Linked DNA regions of Homo sapiens: region 1 is linked to region 2. The links are contacts of gene promoters, found by promoter capture Hi-C in blood cells and fetal thymus (Javierre and others, 2016). All regions are on one chromosome and are shown on one strand. Each heading gives the region's core, a stretch centred on a gene start or on the middle of the fragment in contact. The rest is flanking DNA. Distances are from core to core; before and after follow the strand shown. Region 1 overlaps LOC100506023 (a long non-coding RNA gene). Region 2 holds the start of CACYBP (calcyclin binding protein).

Region 1 (5,648 bases), core at 2,220-4,719, 1.6 Mb before region 2:
CCTCATCAGACCCCAACCATGCTGGCACCCTCATCTTGAACTTACCAGCCTCCAGATCTGTGGAAAATACACTTCTGTTGTTTATAAGCTAACCAGTCTATGATATTTGTTATAGCAACCCAAACAGACTAAGACAACTTCTAAATACCATTTTCCATGAAAAAGAGCCAGGCCCCTCAGGAGAAATGGCAGGAAAATTACAAGATGAGTTTGGAATATCTTGTTGTTCCAGAAGGCAAGGACATGTACAAAGAATGATAGGAACAGGCAAGAAAATATACAAAGAATGATAGGAACACTGGCCAAATTGGGAACAATTTGATGAAAACAGATTAGAACCCAATAGATAAAATAAGCTTCCATGGGTCCATACTAATATAAATAATTGATTGATTAATAAGGAAGAAAGTAAGTTTTTTCTTATAGTAGAATGCCAACTAATTAAATGCAGAATGGATAATTAAATTTAAAAAATCACTGCTTGGCAACCATCATAATAGTATGGTTTCAGACAAGAAATATCAATGGATGCTAAAACTAATGGATGAACATTTCATGCAGAATGGAGTTGTTTTTTTTTTCTTTTGAGACAGGGTCTCACTCCTGTCACTCAGGCTGGAGTGCAGTGGCTCGATCACTGCAGCCTCAACTTCCCAGGCCCAGGTGATTCTCCCACCTTAGCCTACCGAGTAGCTGGGACTACAGGCATGCGCCACCATGCCTGGCTAAATTTTGTATTTTTAGTAGAGACGGGGGGTTTCACCATGTTTCCCAGGCTGGTCTCAAACTTCTGGCCTAAAGTGATCCACCCTCCTTGGCCTCACAAAGAGTTGGGATTACACGGATGAGCCACTGCACCTGGCCAGAATGGGATATTTAAATAGTCTCAAAGTACCTTCCGTAAAATATTTACAAATTTTTTTAAAAAATAATAATTTTACAGTGAAGAGGACTGGCAGACACCTCTTAATTAAGTGATCAAAGTGAACATCACCATTAATAAGACAAACTGAAATTGTGCACCACCTGTAGGATGCAATGAGAAGACCATACACAGCATCACTTCTCTGCTATTCCTACCAAAAATGAAAAGCATTACCTAAATCTAATTCTGAGGAAATATGAGACAAACTCAAATGAAGGAGCATTCCACAGAATAACTGTAATCTACTAAAATGTGAAGGTCATGGAATCAAGGAAAGACTGAGGAACTCCCCTACTCTGAGAGGGTCAAAGAGGCACAACAACCAAATGCAGTGCTTGATCCTGAACTTCTGCGATAATCACATTTATTGGGACAGCTGGGGAAACTGGAATGGTGTCTGCAGATTCAATGTTAGTAATGTATTAATGTTATTAATACTTTTATAACTTAGATAGTTGTATTATTTTTATATAGAAGAATGTCCTTGGGTCCAGGAATGATACATTCAAATATTAAAGTGATACGGCATCATGCAATAATTTCCTCTCCAACAGTTCAGAAAAAAAAGTCATTATACTATTCTTGCCAGTTTTCTTTAGGATTGAAATTATTTCAAAATAAGAAGAAAAAATTAAATTGAAAGTCATCAAACTTTTTAAGGTAAAGCCCAAGACTACAGAATTTATAACTGAACTATTGTGTATTCCCTGAAGGACATTTGCTTTTAGTGATTTTTTCTTAAAAATCAAGTATTCTTTTCTGGCATAAAAATATGACTCCCACATGCAAATCTAATCTACAGTGTGAGAAGTGCAGGCAGTGGTTACGCTGGCAGGAGGATGAAGGGGAAGTGGTGGCTGGCAGTAAGCCCTGAGGAGCTCCCGCAGCTCTCCATGCTTCCTGATCTAGGCTCTGAGTGCACGGGTGTAAGTCCTTTATGTACATGTACACCCTCCTGCTGCATTCAAGGTTTGTACTCTTTTCTGTATACATATTATACTTCAATAAAACATAAACTTAAATTTTTTAAAAAACCAGGTGCAGTGGCTCACACCTACAATCCCAGCAATTTGGAAGGCCAGGGTGGATGGATCACTTGAGCCCAGGAGTTTGAGACCAGCCTGGGCAACATAGTGAGACCTCATCTCTACAAAAAATCAAAAAATGAGGCGGGAGGATCACCTGAGCCTTGGAGGTTGAGGCTACAGTGAGCCGTGATTGCACCACTGCACTCCAGCCTGGGTGACAGAGTGTGACACTGCCTCAATTTAAAAATAAAAAATAAAAAAAGACACAGGCCTTGATCTTAAGAAGTCCACAATCCAGCATAAACAGAAGATGATGACAGCTGTCACAGTTGCATGTCTGACACCCACAAACCAACAGTGAATCACCAGACTAACCTACAAAGAAGCTCTAAATTTGCGGTTCAACAAGAATTCAAGGAATAAGGTTACTGGGGCCCAGGAAAGTAAATAGATACATATATACATTCACTCACTCACTGGTTCTCCGTATACTCACTCATCAACTCCCCATTTCTTCTTCTCAAATAAAAGTTGTAAATGGGTGTCAAGATTCTATTTTGGTACCACCTTATTACTACCTTCCTCTCACAATGGGAGGGAACATTCAAAAGACATTTAAAGGGACTTGGTCATAGGAAGCCCCCAGTGGTACCTTAATAGTTGTGAGCATGTCTAAGTGAGCCCACGTGGTGGAGATGTGATGTCAGAGATGGGAAATGAGGGAGTCAGAAGTGGTCTCACCATGTCACTGGCCTCCAGGTTATCATCCAATGTCCATCATTTCCTACCTGCTGCTAGTGAGAAGACCTTGGTGCTCCTTGGACTGAACTTTGGCCTAGGACTTGCCTGAAGCTCTGTGTACAGCTTTAAACCCCAACTTTCCAGCACTGACCACCATGACAGGACGGAACCCAGTGTCCTGGGGTAAAACCCAAGGGGTAGCAGCTGCACTGGGGAGACATGTACCCAGTCTGGACTAGTCCTTAATGTGTGGTTTTCACCTTCATGAAGGCCTCTCATGCTTCTTTCTTTGACAGGAAGGACTTGGGGGAAGTCCCTCTGATTTCCCCCTGCTGACACTGGTCCGCTTTGGCCGCTTGACGTGTGTGGGCTTCCTGAAGTCTCTGTTGCTGCGGACCAGGGCATATCACTTTGCCCATGGTCAAAGGAAGAAAGGAAAATTTCCACCCACCTGAGATAGGCTGCTTCTATCTTCAGCCTGAGGCAGAGCAGTCATCACTCATCACCAGCACCCCTCAGGTCTTTCTTTGCTGGACTAGTGTCAGGGGCAGGGGCAGGGGCGGGGACAGTTCAATCCAGGAGACCTGGGTTCCAGCTGTAGTTCTGGTTTAGCTGTGCTTCTTCCCTAGCTCTGTGATGACAAGCAAATTATTTTTCATGTCTTCACCTTGGCTTCCTAATCTGGACTATAAGAAGGTATTTTAAAATAATCTCTAAAATCCTCTAGAATATAAATTCCATGAGGATGTCATCTTGCAGCAGAAGAGCTCAATAAAATATTTGATCAAGAAATAGTTAGGCTGAGTGCAGTGGCTCACTCCTGTATTCTCAGAACTTTGGGAGGCTGAGGTGGGCAGATCACTTGAGGCCAGGAGTCTGAGACCAGCCTGGCCAACATGGCAAAACTCCATCTCTACTAAAAATACAAAAAAATTAGCTGGACATGGTGACACACACCTGTAATCCCAGCTACTCAGGAGGCTGAAGCATGAGAATCACTTGAACCCAGGAGGCAGAGGTTGCAGTGAGCCAAGATCACACCACTGCACTCCAGCCTGGCCAAAGAGTGAGACTCTCTCAAAAAATAAAAATAAAAAAATTTTAAAAAGGAAATAGTTGGCCGGGTGCAGTGGCTCATGCCTGTAATCCCAGCACTTTGGGAGGACGAGGCGGGCAGACCACGAGGTCAGGAGTTCGAGACTAGCCTGGCCAATACGGTGAAACCCCGTCTCTACTAAAGATACAAAGAATTAGCTGGGTATGGTGGTGGGCGCTTGTAATCCCAGCTACTCAGGAGGCTAAGGCAGAATTGCTTGAACCTGGGAGGCGGAGGTTGCAGTGAGCTGAGATTGCGCCATTGCACTCCAGCCTGGCAACAGAGCAAGATTCCATCTCAAGAAAAAAAAAAAAAAAAAGGAAATAGTTAAAGGAATCTCTTCTGAGGTCAACTGCCCCATGTCTCATCCACTTGGCCTGCCTCTGATTTCAGCCACAACTATAGTAAATAGACAGTGCCTGCAAAGCTCAGACTCACCCTGTGACAGTGCCCCATCTCAAGGCCAGCCCTACAAGTCTATCTGCTTTCTGTCTTCGTTTCTGGCTCAGCCTCACTGCCTCACAATCTCAAATGCAACAAAAACATTTTACTTCTTCGTCCTTCAAAGTCATTAACTTGCGCATGATCTCAGAGTGTGCAAAGATTTTCTAAACAGAACAAATTAAAAGCATTAAAAGATTTTCTAAATAGAACAAATTAAAAGCATTAACCATAGGAAAGACTAGCGATTTGAACTAATATTCCTAAAAAGACATCGTTAGGAGAGTCAAAACGCAACTATGAGCTAAGAAAATATATTTGCAATATATGTATTTAGCAAAGGACTCATATCCAAAATAAAGAACTGCTGCAAGTCAGTAACAGAAAGATCAACAGCCAGCCACCAAAGATTACATATTATTCCATTCATATAGAATTTAAAAATGGGTAAAATTTCCATTAATGGTAACAGAAGTCGGAATAGTGATTATCTTTGAGTGGAGTATTACAGAGAAGGACTACAAGGGGAGGTGCTGGGCTGATGGAAATGATCAGTATCTCAATCTCAGTAATGATTCCACAGATGTATACAACGGATTTTATGTAAAATTCATCAAGTTGTATACTTTGTACACTTTGCAACAGATAAGTTTGAGTTCAATAAAAAAGGGGGTGGGAATCGAGGCTGTTTAGGTCACATACTCACTCCTGCATCCAAGGGAATAGTGTGTTGATTGGCTTGGGACGGGGTCCTATGGCCCATCCTGAGGGCTGAGGATGGAGCCCACCCAGACCAAAAATGGACAGAGGAGGGAATCTCCAAGGGGGATTGAAAAGTATTTGCAGAAGATGAGGAAAAAGATGTTCTAAGGGAGACAACTAATTTCTAATGGTCAGGACAGAGGTGGGCCTTACCTTTAGCAAGTGGAGCTGGAAAATATAGGAGAGAGAGAAAGACAGAGACACAGAGACAGAGAGACAGGGGCAGAGAGATGCAGAGTAACCAGCCGTCGGCTTTCCAATTCTTTGTTCTCACTCCTGTGAGTGAAGCTGCACTTCCTATGTGGGGGTTCTGAAAGGTTTCCCTGTATCTGTGGGGGAACTTGTTATTCTTTTTGACCATCTGGCATTTTGAGCCTGCTTTTAATTGTTTGGGGAAGTTCCCCACCTTATGAATCTTGACAGGAGGCAGAGTTGCCTCCCACTCTCAGTGCTGAAAATGCCAGTGTTCATGATCTAAGCTCAGCCAAGGAGACAGCAGCGCTCCAGAATCACAGAGACCACAGGGCACATCGGTGTGGAGGACTTGGTCATAGAAGAGTCTAGTCCAGCAGTGTCACAGCAGGCCAGTGTTCACAGGGTCAGAGGAGCGAGCAGCAGCAGCCGGCGCCCAGCAGCATAGCCCTGCAGTCCTCAC
Region 2 (6,030 bases), core at 1,190-3,689:
AAGCCTAATAGGAAGCTGTTAGAGGTTTTTAAGCAAAGGGATATAATGATCTGAAAAGATATCTCGAGCTGCTCTGTGGAAAACTAACTCTTAAGGCACAATGGGGAAGCAGAGAAATCAGTTAGGAAGATAAATTTCAGACAAAATAATGATGACTTGGACCTGGGTGCGTAGGGTAAGAAATATCTTTTCCTTCTACCCATTTTAGGCTCACTGGCTGGGGATCCTGTAACAAAAGACAAATTAACAAGAGAAAAGCATAAATATTAATGTTAGTTTTACATAACATGGAAACTTCATAAAGAAATGAAGACCCGAATAAATAGTTAACCTTAGTGTTGTTTAGAGTAGGTTTGAAGAAGAATGGAGAATTGTGGGAAAATGTGATGGGGCTAAAAGACTGTGATCTAAGGGTAATAAACTGGGGGAAACTTAGCAAGGCCTGATGTTCATATTCGTCTCTACGTCCCTGTGTTTTCAGAGATAAAGATGTTACTTTTATTCCAGGTATAGACAGGGCAATTCTCACATGAGGGTATTACGTCCTGCTTCAGAGCAGAAAGGTGCAAGAAAGTTAGAGACATTCCTGCATATGTTCTTTCTCAAATTCCTTCAGTTCAAAGTATTCAATATGTCTAGGTGCCATATTTTTGGGTAGCATGTCCCAAACCCCGTCAGGTGGTAGAAGCAGAGGTTGTGAGAACTCGTTAAATTCGCTACATATTTTGAAGATTAAGCCAGTAAGGCTTGTTATATAAGATGTAAGGCCTGAGATAGAAGACTCAGGTATGAGTCCTTAGCCTGAGCAATTAAGAGAACGAGGTAACTGTTCACTGCATTAGGTCCATGGGATATTTGTTTTTATTTAATTATGTACTTAATAATTCCAGGCTATTGGTTGGACACTTAAAAAAATTTATACGATAAAATACACAGCTCTTAGGAGTTCATCCCATGAACTTTGACAATTCTATGTATCGGTGTAATATTTCCATTACCTGGGCAAATTCCCCTTCGCCGGGCCTTAAGCATAATCTACAGAAAAAACTACGTACATAAATATACGTTTACAACTCAATGAGATTTCTAAAGTGAACCCACCTATCTATAATCAGTGTCCAAATCAAGAAACATTACCTGAACCTCAAAAGCCCCCTGGTGGCTCTTTCATGTCATTGTCCTCCCCACTATGCTCATTAACACCATGGGCTAGTTTTTAAATGGAACCACGCAATATGAACTCTTCCATGTCTGGCTTCTTTCCCTCAACTTCATTTTTTTGTGTGAAATTCACGCATGTTGCGTTTCGGTAATTTATTTTTGTACTGTACTTCCGATTCTTTACTACAGATAATGGTCAGCCTCCATTCCGCTAACAGCTTTTTTTCCTCTCCGAGTTGCTGATTCTAATTGCTGCCTTGGACGATCTATAAAGCTGAGTGCGCGCTATGTGACCTCTCAGGGGTCGCTGCCTTGGACGATCTGTAAAGCTGAGTGCGCGCTATGTGACCTCTCAGGGGTTGTTTCCAACCGTGTTGTTGACATCTTGAGCCTGCCAAGGACTAGAATAATCTGAAAACTAGGCTTCTCTGGGGGTCTCACTGAGTGACAGGGTTAGAACCAGAAGAGAACATCGTCTCCAGAAGACATTTCACCATTTTCTTTGATGGTAAACAGGCTCACTTATACCGAATCCAAACCCAGGCGAGAACTACGGACTCTTGAAATGGTCGGTGAAAGGGGCGAAAGCACCAGGAAATCGTGCTTCAACAGTCCATGACTGAAAGGAGGGCCTGAAACTGTGGCCATAGGCGGGCCCTTTTGTTAGGGCCTTGACCTGGGCTTCCGCTACAGGGCCCGGTCACGAGGCCAACGTAGCTCCACCTCCTACGGCGGCCAGTGATGACGCCACCACGTCGGAACTGTTAGACCGCGGTGACGTCTCCACCGCGCCAAACTCACTGAAAATCAAACCGCTACCATTAGGAGCCCTCCACGCTTAACATATCCGTTCTTTCTCGTTTGAAAGTAACCAGGCTGCTCCTCCCCATTTTTCGCCTTCTTCTCGCGGAGGCTGAGAGACTAACCTTACACAACATGGCGGCCTGGTGTGTCTGGTGTCCTAGAGCGGACGAAAGCAGGTGACTCTCTAGTCAACTTCCGACTTGGACTCCGAAGATCGGTACGTTATTTCCGGGGCTGGGTTAACGCAGCGGTTCCGAGCTGCGACTGCGCAGCGTGGCCCAGCGCGGTCAAATTATAATACATAAAAGTTGTCAGGGCGGAGAGCAAGACATTACTCTTCTCGGATTGCCGGTTCGCTCGCGAGACTTGAGCGTTGCTAGGAGATTCGGCAGGCGGGCGGAGCCAGACTCGGCGGGGCGGGGAGGGGTGGGGCTAGGCTCGGCGAGGCGAGGAAGGGTGGGTGGAGCCAGGCTTGGCGGGCTGTGCGTGCTCGCGGTGGGCGGTGGCGGCGGCTGCCTCGCGAAGGTTCGAGATCCGTCGCGTGCGGGAGGCGGGCCGCGATCTTGCGCAGGGTCGGTGTGGGCGCAGGCTGCAGCGCCGCGACTCGTGCGGGTAGGCGTCTGCGCTCGGTTTGAGGGCTCGGCGCGGGGTTTCCTGTTCCTCCTTCTGCGCGGCTGCAGCTCGGGACTTCGGCCTGACCCAGCCCCCATGGCTTCAGAAGAGGTAAGTGGTCCGGCCCCATATTCCTTATGCCCCCCGGCTGGAGCTGCAGCGCCAGCCTCCCGCCCTACCGCCGTTTCCGTGGGCTGAGCCGCCCTGCGGCCACCCGGTCCCGCGCCAGTCAGTGCGCCGCCTTCCCGGGGGACACCTCACTCGCCCCTTGCTGCGCCGTCGGCTCCCCAGCGCTTCCACTCGACCTCGCACCCCACTCGCCTGCTGGGCTCGAGCGGGGGTGTGCGGCGATTATCCGTGCAGGCGGTGCGGGGAGTGGGTCTGGGAGAGCGGCCCTTTGCGCGTGTTCCTCAGGCCCTTTCTGCCCTGGTTTCCCAGCCAGTGGACAGGAAGCTTCATTCAAGCAAAGCTGGGTGCAAACATGAGTGTCGTTCTTGGTAGAGGGCGGTTGGAAGGTGAGTTCTCAGTGCTAGCACTTGAATTCTCCTAGTCAGGTTTTCTCTACACACGAGGAGCTGTGTTACTCTGGGCAAGTTGTTTAGCTTCTCTGTGTCGCAGTAGCATCCATTTCATAGGGTTGTTAAAAAATATGATTTCTAGGTGTTTAAGTCAGTGATTGGCAAACAGCAATCTGCTGTATGTGATTTTTAAAATAAATAACTTGGAAAGTTAGTTGTAATTAATAGTAAGAAAGCGAATGGCCTGTGTTAAAGCTCTGTAAACTCTGAACGTTGGAGAATTAAATTTTGTGGAGACTTAGTTTGCTCAGTTAGAAAATGGGAATGATAGTACTTGTATTGCTCATTTCCTGGCGTAAGTGGGAGGTGAAGACGGGACAGTTATTCACAGTTAAGTGTTGGGTGTGTATTAACTAGATTTGCTTTATGAAAACAAGTACTGGGGAGTCCCAAGCTTTTGTTTTGTTTTGTTTTTGTTTTTTAAACTCAAAATCTTTTCTTTAAATGAAGAAAAACTATGAGGTTTGTGTGTTCCAGTATTAATCTGGGTATCTTGTGACAAGTCTTTTAAGGTAGGTCTTGGGTACTATGTGCCCCTAGGAGATAACTTCACAGTCTTGCAGGTGGATAGCTCAGTGTTAGTCCTCTTGAAAGTAGAGATCGTTCTCAGTTTAGGCACTTAGAAATATACATTTGAGGGCACTTGATTTTTGTTTTGTTTGAGATAAAATTCAAGTTTTTAACCATTTTAAAGTGTACAATTCAGGTATTTGTTTTTTGTTTAAATATATTCACAGTGTAGTGCAGCCATCACCACTGTCTAGTTTCAGGACATTTTCATCACTCCAGAAAGAAACCATGTAGTGTGTTTTAAACAATTGCTTCCCATTCCTCCCTCAGCCCCTGACAACTACTCATCTTGTACTTTCTGTGAATTTGCCTATTGTAGGCATTTCATATAAATGGAGTCACGCTGTATGTGGCCTTTTGTTTTTTGGCTCCTTCAACTTAGCACTAACATTTTCAAGTTCATCCATGGTGTAGCGTGTATCAGTACACATGCTCTTTATGGCTAAATAATATTCTATTATATGCATGTGGCACATTGTGTTTATCCTTTCATCCGTTTATGGACATTTATTTCCACTTCTTTGTTTGAGACGGAGTCTCGCTCTGTCGCCCAGGCTGGAGTGCAATGGCGCAATCTCGGCTCACTGCAATCTCCGTCTCCCGGGTTCAAAGGATTCTCCTGCCTTAGCCTCCTGAGAAGCTGGGATTACAGGCGCGCGCCACCATGCCCGGCTAATTTTTGTATTTTTAGTAGCGACGGGGTTTCACCACGTTGGCCAGGCTGGTCTCGAACTCCTGATCTCAAGTGATCCGCCCGCCCGCCTCGGCCTCTGAAAGTGCTGGGATTACAGGTGTGAGCCATGGCGCCTGGCCTTATTTCCACTTCGTGACTAGCATAAATAATGCTGCTGCGAGTACTGTATCCAAGTTTTTTGTGTGGATGTGTTTTCAGTTCTCTGGGGTATATACCTAGGAGTGGAATTACTGGTTCATATGGTAACTTTCTGAGAAACTGTTAGACTGTTTCCAGAGTGGTTGCATCATATTCCTGTAAGAAATGTTTGAAGCTTCTGAAAGTTTCTCCACATCATTATCAACATTTGTTATTTTCTGGGGTGTTTTATTTTTCTTTTTCGGTTTATGATACCATCCTACTGGGTGTGAAGTGGCATCTTGGGAATTTGATATGCGTTTACCCAATGATGAAGATGTTGAGCATCTTTAATGTTCTTGGTGTCCATTTCTGTGTCTTTGGAGAAATGTGTGTTGAATTCCTTTGCCCATTTTTGAGGCACATTGGTGTTAATGCCTCCTAGTGAAAAATTAGGAAATAGGAAGATAAAGCTTGAATGCCTTATGGGTAGGGATAAAAGAGAAATAAAATTTTTATATACGTAAAACAAACACATGCCAAGAAGGCAAGGAAAATTACATGATAAATTAGATAGGAAACTAGGACATCTTAAAGTATTTGTGCAGAAAAAGCATCAAAGGAATCACCTTTGTTGGTTTCAAGTCTGCCAATAACAGAACTGAGGAACTGTCTCAGTTTTAAGTTTTTTCAGTGGATACTTCATAATAAAAAGAGTACTTTAGAGTCAAAACTGGCAATAAAGAGGGCTTGGGAATTCAGCCATTGGGGGAATCCCTTGCCTAATTCGAAGTACCTTTCTCATTCTGCTAGATAAAGTATTCCTATTTCAGTCAAAAAGCAAAACCTCTTGCTTAGACTTAATATATTTCATTTTACATTTCAATATTTTTATTATGAATTAGGAGTTGTAGAATCAGCGTTTTTTTGAAACCATTACAATAAAAATATTACTTTGAACTGAAACATTTTGGTTCTATGCTCAAAAGATGAGTTTGCAAGATTTTTTGTCATAGTAATATGAGCTGTTCTTGGAAGGGTCGAGAGTGTGGACAAGAGGGTTGGGCAGAGTTGATTTTTTTTTTTTTTTGGGAGACCGAGTTTTGCTCTTGTTGCCCGGGCTGGAGTGCAATGGCGCGATCTCGGGTCACTGCAACCTTTGCCTCCCGGGTTCAAGCGATTCTTCTGCCTCAGCTTCCCGAGTAGCTGGGATTACAGGCACGTGCCACCACACCCGGCAAATTTTTGAATTTTAAGTAGAGACGGGCTTTCGCCGTGTTGGTCATGTTGGTCTCGAACCCCTAACCTCAAGTGATCCACCCGCTTTGGCCTCCCAAAGTACTGGGATTACAGGTGTGAGCCACTGCACCTGGCCAGAGTTGAACTTTTTATACCATGTCATCTGTTATAGATAGGCAAAACTAGGGCATCTGAGTTAAATGAGATAACAAAAGACTTGTAGTAAAAGAAAAGAATTAGTTCTGTTATTGCATT

Evidence for each region. Contacts are between HindIII fragments. The CHiCAGO score rates a contact against its expected background, and 5 or more counts as called.
Region 1: a contact is called between a fragment that was not itself captured here and the fragment with the promoter of CACYBP in region 2, in 1 of 17 cell types (total B cells). The highest score is 7.5, in total B cells.

The regions. Positions count from the first base shown.
Region 1 is chr1:173,408,026-173,413,673 of GRCh38, forward strand. The region is part of intron 2 of LOC100506023 (a long non-coding RNA gene); the gene reads right to left. It also overlaps a transcript of TNFSF4 not described here. Among named protein-coding and RNA genes, the nearest start is that of PRDX6-AS1, 51 kb to the right of the region's middle. RefSeq lists an enhancer at 2,674-3,223. The HindIII fragment of the contact is 6,231 bases long and covers 355-5,648 here.
Region 2 is chr1:174,997,508-175,003,537 of GRCh38, forward strand. CACYBP (calcyclin binding protein) reads left to right here and starts at 2,440. Exons shown (of 6, transcript NM_014412.3): 1 at 2,440-2,688. The coding sequence starts at 2,674. It overlaps LOC105371622 (a long non-coding RNA gene), which reads right to left and starts at 2,139. Exons shown (of 2, transcript NR_188647.1): 1 at 2,088-2,139; 2 at 1-226. RefSeq lists enhancers at 1,561-1,770, 1,713-2,249, 1,801-2,310 and a silencer at 2,341-2,460. The HindIII fragment of the contact is 3,791 bases long and covers 1-3,028 here.